Regions from separate parts of the Homo sapiens genome. Here region 1 is linked to region 2. The links are contacts of gene promoters, found by promoter capture Hi-C in human tissues and cell types (Jung and others, 2019). All regions are on one chromosome and are shown on one strand. The core of a region is centred on a gene start or on the middle of the fragment in contact, and the rest is flanking DNA. Distances in the headings are between cores, read along the strand shown. Region 1 overlaps TCN2 (transcobalamin 2). Region 2 holds the start of RNF185 (ring finger protein 185).

Region 1 (7,222 bases), core at 2,008-4,507, 540 kb after region 2:
ATTATAGGCATGAGCCACCGCACCCGGCCTCATTTCTGCTGTTTATAAGCCACCCAGTTTATGGTATTTTGTAATAGCAGCTTCAATGGACTAAGACAAAAGAGAACTCAAATTATAACTCCCATCCACTTTCCACCCCAAGGAAGATAGAGGAGTGATTTATGCAACTGGTTGATTTGGGAAGAATAAACTAGGCATGTGTAGCCTGGGCGCTATTTTTCTCCTGGGAGCGGGCTTCCTTCTAGACTCAAGGGCAGAGGGGGAAGGAGATAGAGGCTACAACTGCCCAGGTCTGCTTCCTGGCTGGGTCCACCTAGCTCTCACCCTCCTGTCTTTATCAGTAATAGAACTGGCCAGACTTGGGGTCTCCATCTGTAGCTCCTATTTTTTATTCCTCAATTTATTCAGAATGAGGGCAAGAAAAGAATGCTTTTTTGTGGGCTCCCTCAGAAAGTCCCACCTTCTCTATAAGCACTCGCCACAATGCTTGACACATGGTAAGTGCCCCATAAAAGTTCTTCAGGGGTGGAGTATCAAAGCAACTTAAATAACAAGAGTAGGAACAGATGACTTTTAAGGGTCTGTTTGCAGGCCAGGCGTGGTGGCTCACGCCTGTAATCCCAGCACTTTGGGAGGCTGAGGCAGGCAGATCACTTGAGGTCAGGAGTTTGAGACCAGCCTGGCCAACATGGTGAAACCCCGTCTCTACTAAAAATACAAAAATAACTGGGCATGGTGGCACACACCTGTAATCCCAGCTACTTGGGAGGCTGAGGCAGGAGAATTGCTTGAGCTCAGAAGGCAGAGGCTGCAGTGAGCTGAGACCTCGCCATTGTACTCCGGCCTGGGCAACAGAGCAAGACTCCATCTCAAAAAAAAAAAATATATATATATATATATATGTGTGTGTGTGTGTGTGTATATATGTATACATATATATGTGTGTATATATGTATACATATATATGTGTGTATATATGTATACATATATATGTGTGTGTATATATGTATACATATGTGTGTGTGTATATATGTATACATATATATGTGTGTATATATATGTATACATATATATGTGTGTATATATGTGTGTATATATGTGTGTATGTATGTGTATGTATGTGTGTGTATATGTGTGTGTATGTGTGTGTATATATGTGTATGTGTGTATATATGTATACATATATATGTGTGTATATATATATACATATATATGTGTGTATATATATGTATACATATATATGTGTGTCTGTATATATATATATTTCATATATATGTATACACATATATGAAATTTTTAAGTTATACATGTGGGCAACATTAAATTTCCACTGGATAGCATGGCTCCATTTTTTATGAAAAACTTACTGCCATATTTTTAAAAAGTATCTAGAAGAAAAGTTAAGTAATTTTGGCTGGGTGCGGTGGCTCATGCCTGTAATCCCAGAACTTTGGGAGGCAGAGGCAGGCAGACCACTTGGGCTCTAGGAAGGCTGAGGTGGAAGAATCACATGAACCCAGGAGGCGGAGGTTGCAGCGAGCCGAGATCATACCGCTGCACTCCAGCCTGGGCAACAAGAGCGAAACTCCATCTCAAAATAAAAGACGTTATTCCTAGGTAGTATATCCTAGGTGATGTTAATTTTCTTCTAGTTTTTTTTTTTTTTTGTAATCTGTCTGGTTTCCTAGAATTTCCACAGTAACTTGCATAAAAATTCTAAGGCTTCAGTTCAATATATTATATCCAACTTTGAGCATCAGTGATTTTGTGAAGGTGTGGCCCAGGAGGGTGCTAGGGAAAGCTGGGGTGAGTTGATGAAGCCTCTTGGCTGAGTAAGCTTGGGGTAGGGGACACATCCAGAGTGTCAGGCCATGACTCACCTTGCAACAGTGGGGTGTTGGGGTCTCGGAGAAGCTGCCAGAACTCCCTTTCTCCGGCCGCTTTCCCCATCACGGAGGTTAAGTAGGGGCCTGACAAGGAGGCCTGTGTTTCATATCTACAGAAGGGAAAGGCAAATGGGGAGAGAAGAGGTGGCTGTTGTCCCTAAGGGGAGAGGCAGTGCTCACCCACAGCAGCAAAATCCCTTCCAAGCTCTTTGGGCCGACACTCGTCAAACCCTTCCCAGGCCACCTGGCCACAGGTCTGTGATCTCAACTTCCACCTCCTTCCCCTCCAGACCCCCGATCCTGCCTGCTCAGGCTTCATCCTCTCCACGCTGACCATGACCATGGCCTCCAGGAAAGGGGCATCTATTATGTTATCAGCTCAGCAGTTGTCCCCTCTCTGGGGGGCTGATGTTATGGGGGATGAGAATCAGAAGCTGCTGGTGTCACCTAGAATGTGTACAATGTACAACGAGAGAGGGTGAAGCCTGCATACAGAGACAGGCAGGGTCATGGGAAGTGGAGGCAGAGACACCTGGCAGTGGCACTGGGTCTCTGTGGCTCAGTGGCATTCCCCTCTTCTCGGGGCTGCATGGCTCAGCCTCCTCTCTGATTCTACATGCTCTACACCCGCTGTTGTGGAGAGGCTTGGAGTTCGGTTTCTGGCCCTGGCAGCCAAGAGACTCCTCAACTCACACTCCCCCTTCCCTGAGCTTCTGGCCTTCAACTTTGAGTTTCTGCACTCCGTCTGGATGCCACTGCCACAGGAAGCCTCTTAAAACTCCGTGGGCCTGGGCCAGGCACAGTGGCTCAACCCTGTAATCCCAGTACTTTGGGAGGCCAAGGCAGGCAGATCACCTGAGGTTGGGAGTTCGAGACCAGCCTGACCAACATGAAGAAACCCCATCTCTACTAAAAACACAAAATTAGCCAGGTGTGGTGGTTCATGCCAGTAATCCCAGCTACTGGGGAGGCTAAGGCAGGAGAACCGCTTGAACCCGGGACGTAGAGGTTGCAGTGAGCTGAGATCGTACCATTGTACCCCAGCCTGGGCAACATGAGCAAAACTCCATCTCAAAACAAAACAAAACAAACTCCGTGGGCCACGTCCTTCATCCCTCCCACAGGAGAAAGCAGCATGATCAGGGCTTCCCCTGGAAGAAGGGCTTCAAGAGATGAGTGGGATTTGCCAGAGGAGAAGGGAGGAGAGCGGGGCAGAGCTGAGAGGAGGCAGAGAGAAGAAAGGCACACAGGTGCACAGAATTTGGGGGAATGGTCTTTCAAAAGAGCAGGGTCAGGCCAGGCACTGTGGCTCATGCTTGTAATCCCAGCACTTTGGGAGGCCAAAGCGGGTGGATCACTTGAGGTCAGGAGTTCATGACCAGCCTGGACAACATGGTGAAACCCCATCTCTACTAATAATACAAAAATTAGGCTGGGCATGGTGGTGCACACCTGTAATCCCAGCTATTCAGGAGACTGAGGCAGGAGAATCACTTGAACCTAGTAGGCGGAGGTTGCAGTGACCTGAGGTCGCACCACTGCACTCCAGCCTGGGTAACAGAGCAAGACTGCTTCTCAAAAACAAAACCAAGCAAACAAACAAAAAACAACAAATGAGCAGGTTCTGGGAGAATGCAAATGACTGAAAAGGAGGTGAGACCGTCAAAGTAACAGGGAAGTGATGTGAACAAACGCATCTTCTACAAAGTGCTCTCTGGGGTAATACAGCCCTAAGTTATCGATGGTTGCAGTCTTAGAGGGATTTTTTTGGTTTTAAGAAACACAGGTGGGGCGCGGTGGGTCACATCTGTAATCCCAGCACTTGAGGAGGCGGAGGTGGGTGGATCACCTGAGGTTGGGAGTTTGACACCAGCCTGGCTCACATGGTGAAACCCTATTTCTACTAAAAATACAAAAACTAGCCAGGTGTGATGGTGGGCCCCTGTAATCCCAGCTGCTCAGGAGGCTGAGGCAGGAGAATCGCTTGAACCCAGGAGGTGGAGGTTGCAGTGAGCCGAGATCGTGCCACTGCACTCCAGCCTGGGCGACTGAATGCAACTCCGTCTCAAAACAACAACAACAACCACCACCCTATTTGGGGTGACTTTAGCGAAGGGAAACTACTGTTCTAAGGAATGTCACAGAGTAGCCCTTTTCCCATTCCTTAACTCTGCAGGGCCATGTGGCTGCACAGGGCTACCTCTCTCCACATCTGTCTATCTGTGTCTGCAGTTGAGCTTTCTCTGCTGTGCATTCAGGGGCCTCAAACATAGTCTTCATGCCTGAACCCAGTTGAGGCATCCATGCACACTAACAAGAGAACCATTTCTCAGACTGGAGTCCACAGTGTCTTCCCAGAGATCCCCGAGCTCTGAATAAAAACGTTAAATTCTAATTGTCTTTCATTTTGATGACAATATTCAAACATGAATACCAGCTGGTTCTGGGTAATCTCAGTCTGTGGGTCTGAGCCCTCCCAAGGGCACTCAGCCTATGCGTGGCCATCAGTGACTGCGCTGGTGCCCAGCAGCATTGCGTTATGTGCCATAGGCCACAGGAAGGAAACGGAGGTGGCCCTCATAGTGAATGAAGTGGCTGAGCCAGGCCAGGAGTGCCCAGGCTTCACTGCAGCTTGAATACAGGGAGGTGCTAAAGTGCAGGCCAGCACCTCCGCAGAGCATCCTTATTTGAATGGTATTGGTTTTTATACTTTTCTATTTAATTTATAAAGTTGTTGGGGATTTATAGCTGTCTAGAGCTAGAAAGAGAAAGGACTTTTTTTGTGTGTGGTAGAGACGGGCTTTCGCCACGTTGGCCCGGCTGGTTTTGAACTCCTGGCCTCAAGTAATCTGCCCACCTTGGCCTCCCAAAGTGCTGGGATTACAGGTGTTAGCCATCACACTCAGCCCTTTGTCTTTTAAAAAAAAAAAAAAAGTTTTGTCATCCAGGCTACAGGACAGTGACGTCATCATAGCTTGCTGCCGCCTTGAACTCCTGGGCTCAAGCAGTCCTCCCACCTCAGCCTTCTGGGTAGCTAGGATTATAGGTGCACACCATCATGCCCAGCTAATTAAAAAAATTTTTTTGAAGAGATGGCAGTCTCACTATGTTGCCCAGGCTGGTCTCAAACTCCTAGGCTCAAGTGATCCTCCTGCCTCAGCCTCCCAAATCACTGGAATTACAGGAGTGAGCCACCAGCTCTGGCCAAAGACTTTATATTTAATAAAATTATCAGTACACATCTAAGTGATATTATAGAAGAAATAACTTAACCTGGGGTCTGGGAGAATGTTTGTACTTCAGAGGAGTCTTTGCATTTCTCCGGTCTGAGATTCTCTAGCCTAGAGGACCCGAAGGAACCAACTGTGGGCCCTCCCTGGATGCAGGATGCTGTTTTCCAGGAACTCCCACTGGGGACAGAGATAGGCCCATGATTCTAGGGGAGAAGTCTGTGGTGTGCGTGACCTGGTGGAAGGCATTCAACTTCTCTGGGCTGGACTCCCCACTGATAACATGAGAATTACATTCATCTTATTTCATCATGGACAGGACCTGTCAAACAACAGTCCAGACATGCTCATTCTCAAACTATTCTAAGCTCAGGGTGAGAAGCAAGTGTAAGGACATTGTCCAACCTCTTTGAGGTAATTAATAACAGGATAGGGCCAAACTTATTTCATAATAAAAGTTCTTATTCTGGCCAGCCACGGCGGCTCACGCCTGTTATCTCAGCACTTTGGGAGGCCAAGGTGGGTAGATCGCTTGAGTCCAGGAGTTTGAGACCAGTCTGGGCAACATGAAGCAATCCCATGTCTACAAAAAATTTTAAAAAAATATTTGCCAAGCGTGGTGGCGCATGCCTGTTGTTCCCAGCTACCTGGGAGGCTAAGGTGGGAGGATCAGAGCCCGGAAGATTGAGGCTACAGTGAGCTGTGATTGTGCCACTGCACTCTAGCCTAGGTGACAGAGTAAGACCCTGTCTCAAATAAAATAAAAGTTCTTATTCTGGGCCAGGCATAGTGGCTCATGCCTGTAATCCCGGCACTTTGGGAGGCTGAGGCAGACATATCACTTGAGGTCAAGAGCTCAAGACCAGCCTGGCCAAAATGGCAAAATTCCATCTCTACTCAAAATATAAACATTAGCCAGGTATGGTGGTGCATGCCCATAGTCCCAGCTACTCGGGAGACTGAGGAAGGAGAATCGCTTGAACCTGGGAGGTAGATGCTGCCATGAGCTGAAATTGTGCCACTGCAACCCAGTCTGGGCGACAGAGGGAGACTCCATCTCAAAAAAAAGTAGATGGGTGTGGTGGTGCATGCCTGTAGTCCCTGTTACTTGGATAATTTGAGGCTGCAGTGAGCTATGAATGTGCCACTGCACTTCAGCCTGGATAACAGAGAGAGACCTTGCCTAAATAAATACATGGCCGGGCACGGAGGCCCATGCCTGTAATCCCAGCACTTTGGGAGGCCGAGGCAGGCAGATCACCCGAGTTCAGGAGTTAGAAACCAGCTGGCCAACATAGTAAAACCCTGTCTCTACTAAAAATACAAAAATTAGCTGGGCATGGTGGCACGCGCCTGTAGCGCCAGCTACTCAGGAGGCTGAGGCAGGACAATCACTTGAACCCAGGAGACGGAGGTTGCAGTGAGCCGAGATTGCGCCACTGCACTCCAGCCTAGGTGAAAGAGAGAGGCTCTGTCTCGAAATAAATAAATAAATAAAAATAAACAAATACACAAACACGAGTTGGGCCTCCAGAGCCTGGGTAATAGAGTGAGACTCTGTCTCAAAAAAAAAAACAAAAAAAACCAGTTATTATTCTGGCTGAGCATGATGGCTCGCACCTATAATCCCAATATTTTGAGCGCCTCAGGTGTGAGGATGGTTTGAGGCCAGGAATTTGAGACCAGCCTGGGCAACAGACAGAGACCCTATCTCAAAAAAAAAAAAAAAAAAAATTACCCAGGGTTGTGTGGCACGTGCCTATAGTCTCAGCTATTTGGGAGGCTGAGGCAGGACAGTAGGGTTGCTTCATCCCCAGAGTTCGAGACTGCAGTGAGACGTGATTGCACAATTACACTCCAGCCTGGGTGATAAGATTGAGACCCTGTCTCTTAAAAACAAACAAACAAACAAACAAAAAACAGTTCTTACTCTGATGAAAGCAACGCTGTGTTGAGCGCTTGCTATGTGCTGGACCTTGCACATATAAAAAGCACATGCCACTATCTCTATGTGTACTAACTCCTGGACTCTTCACACTGGCCCTGCAGGGAAGGGGCACAACTGTTCTCCTCGGTGAATTGTGGGTGCCTACCTGGAACCTAGCT
Region 2 (6,842 bases), core at 238-2,737:
TCAATTTTGTGATTCAGAGTTCACTGGCTTCTCCTGGTCAAACATAAAATCTTCAGAGGCATTTCCAACTTGTTCTTAGAAAAAAGCTACTAACCCATGGGGTGGGACCCAGTTTACTTATTCATTCAATAAACATTTAAGGTGCCTCTATCAGATATTGGGTCATTCCAAAGTCCTTGAAAAGAAGGATGGTGCACAGGACAACCAGGAAGAGATTATGTAAGGTCAGATGCATTGGCCTTATTTACAGGAGATGTAGGCTAAAGTGATGGAAGTGTCAAAAGAGAAGAAAAAAGTCACATTTGCCTTGAGAGCAGAGTCAGCACCAGAAAGATGCAGAACAACTCCTTGGAATCACAGACTTTCAAGTTGGAAAGGACCTTCATCTAATACCTATATACCTCCCTCGAAAGGAGGCACGGAGGCAATCCATTCACTCCATCGGTGGTCACCTCTGACGATTCTTCCATTTAAGTTCTTCTATTAAGCAAAAATCTTGCCTTCCTGTAGAATTCACCTGTTAGTCCTAGTTCTGCCTCTTTTAGCCTAAAGATGAAGTGGAAGCCCTCTTTGCCGTAACAGTATTTTCAATTTTTAAAAAGTTAATTCCCTTCCAGTGCTCTCTTTACTGAGCTAACCATTCCAGTTCTTTCAAAGTTCCTGAACTGGCACCAGCTGCCTCAAAGCGAAGAATGGATATCTAGTGCTCACAGCAGGAAAGCACTTAAAATCAATGAGCTTCAAACATTAGTATATACAGGACCCCCCTACGCATAAGTTCAGATTCTAAACCAGAAGTCTGAATTGAGTCCCGCGCTGTAAAGCCGGCATCTCAGAGAATTACAAAGCAGATGGTGTAAGAACCATATTTTGAAAAACACTGCCCCGTTTTAGAGACGAGAAAACTGAGGCCCAGCACAGGGAAGAGATTTGGCCCAGAACGCACAATTGTCTGTCGGTGGCGAAGTCTCGAATCCAGGTCTCTTACTTTCAGCCCAACTCTGTTCACCGCGCTCCCCGGCCTCTGCTTCTCCACTCAGGGCAAACTCGTGAAATGCACTCCCAGATGATAGAGGCGGTCTCGCACGGGGGATAGAATGGGAATCAGTGCCCATGCCTCGAAAGGAGAGCTTGTGGGAGCCCTTCTCTTTCGCAAGGCCTCAGTTTCCCCAATCTGTATTCATGGGACGCAGAACCACAACGCCAGCTCGTCCTCTTTTCGGGGACAGACACGACCGGTCTTGCTGTCTCTGGGCCCCTGGGCTCAGATGTTCAAGCCCGTGTGTCCTGGGAAGGCGGACCCGGGTCTCCCGCCCCCGTCCCTAAACTTTGGCGCCCCCGCCCCAACCCCAGCCCCTCACATACCTGCCTCCGCACAGTTAACGCCAGCCCAGTCAATCAGTTTTTCGGGTACACGGCCAATACTAACGCCGCGTCAATCTGTTGGGTAAGACCTCCGACCCCTCCTACGCGGACTCCAGTCACATGACGCGGAGCCGCCCCTCTCGGAGGGACTTCCGGCCCCAACCGGAAGAGGTTAATTTCCATGGCTGAAGCTCTAAGGTTCCGCCTGCGGGCAGGAAGCGGAGGAACCTTGGAGCTTCGGCAGCTTTTCAAAGAGCTTTGGGTTCGGGGCTCCTAAAAGAAAAAAACTGATTCCGGCCGGGCGCGGTGGCTCCCACCTGTAATTCCAGCAGTTTGGGAGGCCGCGGCGGATGGATCACTTGAGGTCAGGAGTTCGAGACCAGCCTGGCCAAAATGGTGAAACCCCTCTGTACTCAAAATACAAAAAGTAGCCGGTCGTGGTGGCGCACACCTGTAATCCCAGCTACTCGGGAGGCTGAGGCAGGATAATCGCTTGAACCCGGGAGGCGGAGGTTGCAGTGAGCTGAGATCGCACCACTGCACTCTAGCCTGGGCGTCAGAGTGAGACTCCGTCAAAAAAAAAAAAAAAAAAGAGAGAGAGAAAGAACTAACTCATTCCGGAAAGTACCAGATAAACTTGGAACATCTTGTTACACCAGAATATAAGGATGATGGTAATAAGAATCATGGGAATGTGTCAAAGAACACAGGAGCTGTCTTTAAGGAGATCTTACTGGCCAAGTCAGGGCAATTTCAGAATCAAAATATGGAGTGATAGTAATAGAGTATAACTAATTGAATAAAATAGTAATCCATGAGTCTTTACAAACATAAAGAAGTGAGCATATTAATGGGTGAAGGGAAAGTCTTCCTTTTAGTAGAATGCTAGCTAATAAACATGGTGGAATTAGGAAATCAATAATGTGTGGTAAAACTAGAGAAACGGGATGTTTACAACAGCAAAAGTGTCTCCCATAAATTAGCTATTGATTACAAAGGGAAAATGGTGATGTTACAGAGGTTTAACCTAGCAGAACAAACAGATCAAAGTGATCAAAGTTAACACCACTAGTTAATGGGTCAGATCAAGGGCCTCCTAATAAAATGCACTGAGAACACATCTGTGGTATTTCTGTCAAAAGTGCACCGTACACATCTCATGAGGAAGTGCTAGAGAACCCCAAATGAAGGACACTGTCTACAAAATAACTCATTGTCATGAAAAACAGAGAAAAGCTGAGGAACTGTTCCAGTTTAAAGGAGACTAAAGAAGCATGACAACAAAATGTGGTGTGTGATTCTAAATAGGACCCTGGACTGGGGTAGTGGTGGTGGTGGAATAGTTGTAATGGACAATATTGGGACAAGTAATGAAATTTGAATATGGATTGTGGATTAGCTGTTAATACATATTGTATCAAATCACATACTGATAGGTGATGGAGCTTGTGATTTGCACTCAAGCAGTCATTGGAGTTCTTGACAGCCATCTTCATTCATTCAACAAGCATTTATTAAGTACCTACAGTTATCCCAGGAACGGTTAGGGATCGGACCTGAGTAGGAGGTGAACATAGTAGATAAAGGCCGGCGCGGTGGCTCACGCCTATAATACCAGCACTTTGGGAGGTCGAGGCAGGCAGATCACCTGAGGTTAGGAGTTCGAGACCAGCCTGGCCAACATGGTGAAACTCATCTCTACTAAAAATACAAAAATTAGCCAGGCGTGGTGGCGGGCACCTGTAATCCCGGCTACTTGGGAGGCTGAGGCTGGAGAATTGCCTGAACCCAGGAGACAGAGGTTATAGTGAGCCAAGATCGTGCCATTGCACTCCAGCCTGGGCGACAAGAGTGAAACTCCATCTCAGAAAAAAAAATAAAAAATAGTAGATGAAATAAGCTCATAGATGAAAGTCCTAGTCTGCCAGCCACCTTTGCAAGTTCCTGTGATCAAGAAGTAATACAAGGGATGTTTCCAGTCACACAAACCTGGATTTGAAACCAAGCGCTAAGAGAAAAACAGCCCCTGACATCCAGGAGATGGTCTGGCACTCACAAATAGACCTTGGTGTGTTCTCTTATTGAACATAAAAACTTCACAGAACATCAACATCAAACAAAGCCACTATGTGACCATGATGGATCAAGACAATAACAAAACCACTTGAATCATGTCTAAACCCAGACAAAACATGAGCATTGTTCGAACTACAAAAATGGCCAAACATTTCCCTATTCTGGCTTGTATAGAGATTATAGATTTAGCCTCGGTCTACTCTTCCCTCCTTCTAAATAATGTTTATCAAGGTACTCACTCATAGGCAGCATCCAATCCAGAAAACCCCATTTTCTTAAGCCCTCGTCCAAATCACCTAATGCAAGCCCAAATCCTATGTGTCCTTTGTAACACTTTGTTACTGAGATGCCCCTTTGTTTGTTTGTTTGTTTGTTTGTTTGTTTTTGAGACAGAGTATCACTCTATCACTCAGGCTGGAGTGCAGTGGTGTGATCTCGGCTCACTGCAGCCTCTGCCTCCTGGGTTCAAGTGATTCTTCTGCCTCAGCCTCCCAAGTAGCTGGGATTACAGGCGCCCACCATCACTCCCGGCTAATTTTTGTATTTTTAGTAGGGACAGGGTTTCACCATGTTGGCCAGGCTGGTCTCGAACTCCTGACCTAAGGTGTTCCTCCCACCTTGGGCTTCTACAGTGCTGGGATTACAGATGTGAACCACCAAGCCCAGCTGCCCTATTGTTTCTCATGATTCATGTCCTCTCACCCTTACCCCATAACAAGTGATAAACTCAACTTGTTTAACCACAGGTGTGTTCCAATTTCTTCCTTCCTCAAAAAGTTGTTATGAGGATACTCGGAACAGGTTCATCACAGAGTGAGCTTTCTCTATCAATCGATCCATTATCTATTTTTTATTTTTTTAAAAAAACATGGTCTCAGCCTGTGGTCCAGACTGGAGTGCAGTGGCACACCATCCTAACTCACTGCAGGCTTCAACTCCTGGGCTCAAGTGATCCTCCCACCTCAGTCTCCTGAATAACTGTGACTACAGGCACGCACCACACCCAGCTAATATTTTTTATTTTTCTGTAGAGACAGGGTCCTGCTGTTGCCCAAGCTGGTCTCAAACTCCTGGCCTCAAGGGATCCTCCCAGTTTGGTCTCCCAAAGTGTTGGGATTACAGGCATGAGCCACCTCACCCAATGCTTTCAATATACTTTTAAAAATTATACATATATTTTTGAGACAGCACCTCACTCTGTCACTCAGATTGGAGTACAGTGATGCCATCTTGACTCACCTCAACCTCCGCCTCCCTAGCTCAAGCGATTCTCCTGTCTCAGCCTCCTGAGTATCTGGGATTACAGGTGCATGCCACTACCACCCAGCTAATTTTTGTATTTTTAGTAGAGATGGGATTTCACCATGTTGGCCAGGCTGCTCTCGAACTCCTGACTTCAGGTGATTTGCCCTCCTCAGCCTCCCAAAGTGTTGGGATTACAGGCGTGAGCCACCACGTTTCCCCCTCAGCTTGCATTGTTTCTGGGAGAACCTGCACCATACCTTTATCTATAGCTTTCCCCCAGGTCTTAAGAAGCACGAAGTTTTAACTGTGGACACGGGATTTGGTGAAGCAGCAATCACGACTGTGGGCACGAGTAGCAAGGCTGCAGCAGCACATTGACTATAGAATGAAATGCATCCTACAGGAAGGCACAATCTTCTTTGGCATCTTTAAGGCGTTTGACAAGCATGTGAATTTGATCCTCTGCGATTGTGATGAGTTCAGAAAGATCAAGCCAAAGAACGTGAAGCAACCAGAGCTCGAAGAAAAGCACTTTTGGGGTCTGGTGTTGCTGCATGGGGAGAACTTGGTATCCATGACTGTGGAGGGGCTACCCCCAAAATATACTGGCATTGCTCGGGTACCACTTGCTGGAGCTGCAGGAGGCCCTGGAGTTGTTAGGGCAGCTGGTAGAGGAGTATCAGCTGGTGTACCAATTCCCCAGGCTCCTGGTGGATTAGCAGGCCCCGTCCCAGGAGTTGGGGGACCATCCCAGCAGGTAATGACTCCACAGAGAAGAGCATTACTGGAGCCCCAACACAGTACCCACCAGGACCGGGGGCTCCACCCCCACCTGTTGGCAGAGCAGCCCCACCTCTAGGCATTATGTTTCCTCCACCTGGTATGAAACCACCCATGGGCCCACCAATTGGGCTTCCCCTTGCTAGAGGGACGCCAGTAGGCATGCCCCCTCCAGGAATGAGACCCTTTCCACCAGGAATGCATCCACCAAGACCCTGGGATATTGCTGATCCATCTCAGTCACTTTTCCCCCTGCAATGCATCTTGTGAAATTGTATAGTGTTTGTGAGCTTTTTGTCCCTTCTTTCTGCGTTAATCATAGCTAATAATAAATGCCTAAAGCAATTAAACTGTGGGAAAAAAGATATTGAAGCCATCAGCTTTCATTAAGATAAACTCCCTGATTATATTCCTCTTTGCTCTTTTTGTTGGGTTCATAAGGTGGAAAAAATGGAGAGAGTTCAACTTTTCCTTAGTCGGAAATGAGGTCATTCTCATGGTATTTTCTGGAAAGCAATAACCACGTTCCTGAAACTTTAACATTAGGGAACCAGCACTGTTTATTTCTTCATGTTCTTGTTATTAAAAACGTTCCCAAGAAGTAGCAGAATTGGAACTACCAAACTTGGAAGCACTTCAGCTTCAAAAATATATCAAGTAATATCTTCTCTGCTTTAGCACACTAAGGCACTTATAATCCCTGGAAGCCCTGTTGGTGATGTTGGCATTTATCCTGCTGGAACCCAGCATAGATTTAATATTATTTGATGCCTACAACATTGTGCTGAATAAAAAATATTCATTCCGGTGGGAAATAATTTTAAAAATATAAATTTTCTGATTTCTTCCTCTGCTTGCTCCCAAGTCCCCCTGCCCCCTCCCCTTCTTTGCCCTTACTCCTTTAATAATAATAATAGCAGTAGCTAACATTTATTGAATGTTTATAAAGTGCTGCATACTGTGCTAAGGGCTTTATGCAATTTAACCCTCACCCCAGGATTGTGAAGGAAGTCTTACTACAGATGAGAGGCTAGAGGACCAGAGAAGTTAAGCAACATGCCCAAGACTACACAGCTGGTAAGAATCAGGCCCAAAATTGGAATCCGCCCTCAAAACCTGCTCCTGTTGAAATGTTGCTTCACCACCCTGGCACAGAGAGTAGGGTCTGTGAAGGGATGGAAGGAGTGATAGACTGGCAAGGAAGGAAGGGCTTGGGGTAGTGGGTGGGGTGGGTGGGAGTGGAAGACCATGCAGAGGCATTTAGACCCTCTCCAGAGGGCAGAGGGAAGGGATGGAGATTAGGAACACAACACAAATAGGAGGCCCCTGTAGAACCTCAGGGGGAGCCATGAGTTTGGGGGACCAGGAAGGTTGAA

Evidence for each region. The method cuts DNA at HindIII sites, captures the fragments that hold promoters and counts their contacts. A contact is called where the count stands out against the background at its distance.
Region 1: a fragment that was not itself captured here is called in contact with the fragment with the promoter of RNF185 in region 2 in 1 of the 25 tissues and cell types used here (spleen).

Annotation. Positions count from the first base shown.
Region 1 is chr22:30,617,742-30,624,963 of GRCh38, reverse strand. It overlaps TCN2 (transcobalamin 2), which reads right to left. Exons shown (of 9, transcript NM_000355.4): 8 at 1,881-1,996. Among named protein-coding and RNA genes, the nearest start is that of TCN2, 14 kb to the right of the region's middle. The HindIII fragment of the contact is 9,250 bases long and covers 1-7,222 here.
Region 2 is chr22:31,154,827-31,161,668 of GRCh38, reverse strand. It overlaps RNF185 (ring finger protein 185), which reads right to left and starts at 1,487. Exons shown (of 7, transcript NM_152267.4): 1 at 1,366-1,487. It overlaps MIR3928 (microRNA 3928), which reads left to right and starts at 1,550; the gene lies at 1,550-1,607. It also overlaps the pseudogene SNRPNP2. RefSeq lists a silencer at 5,432-5,726. The HindIII fragment of the contact is 14,525 bases long and covers 1-6,842 here.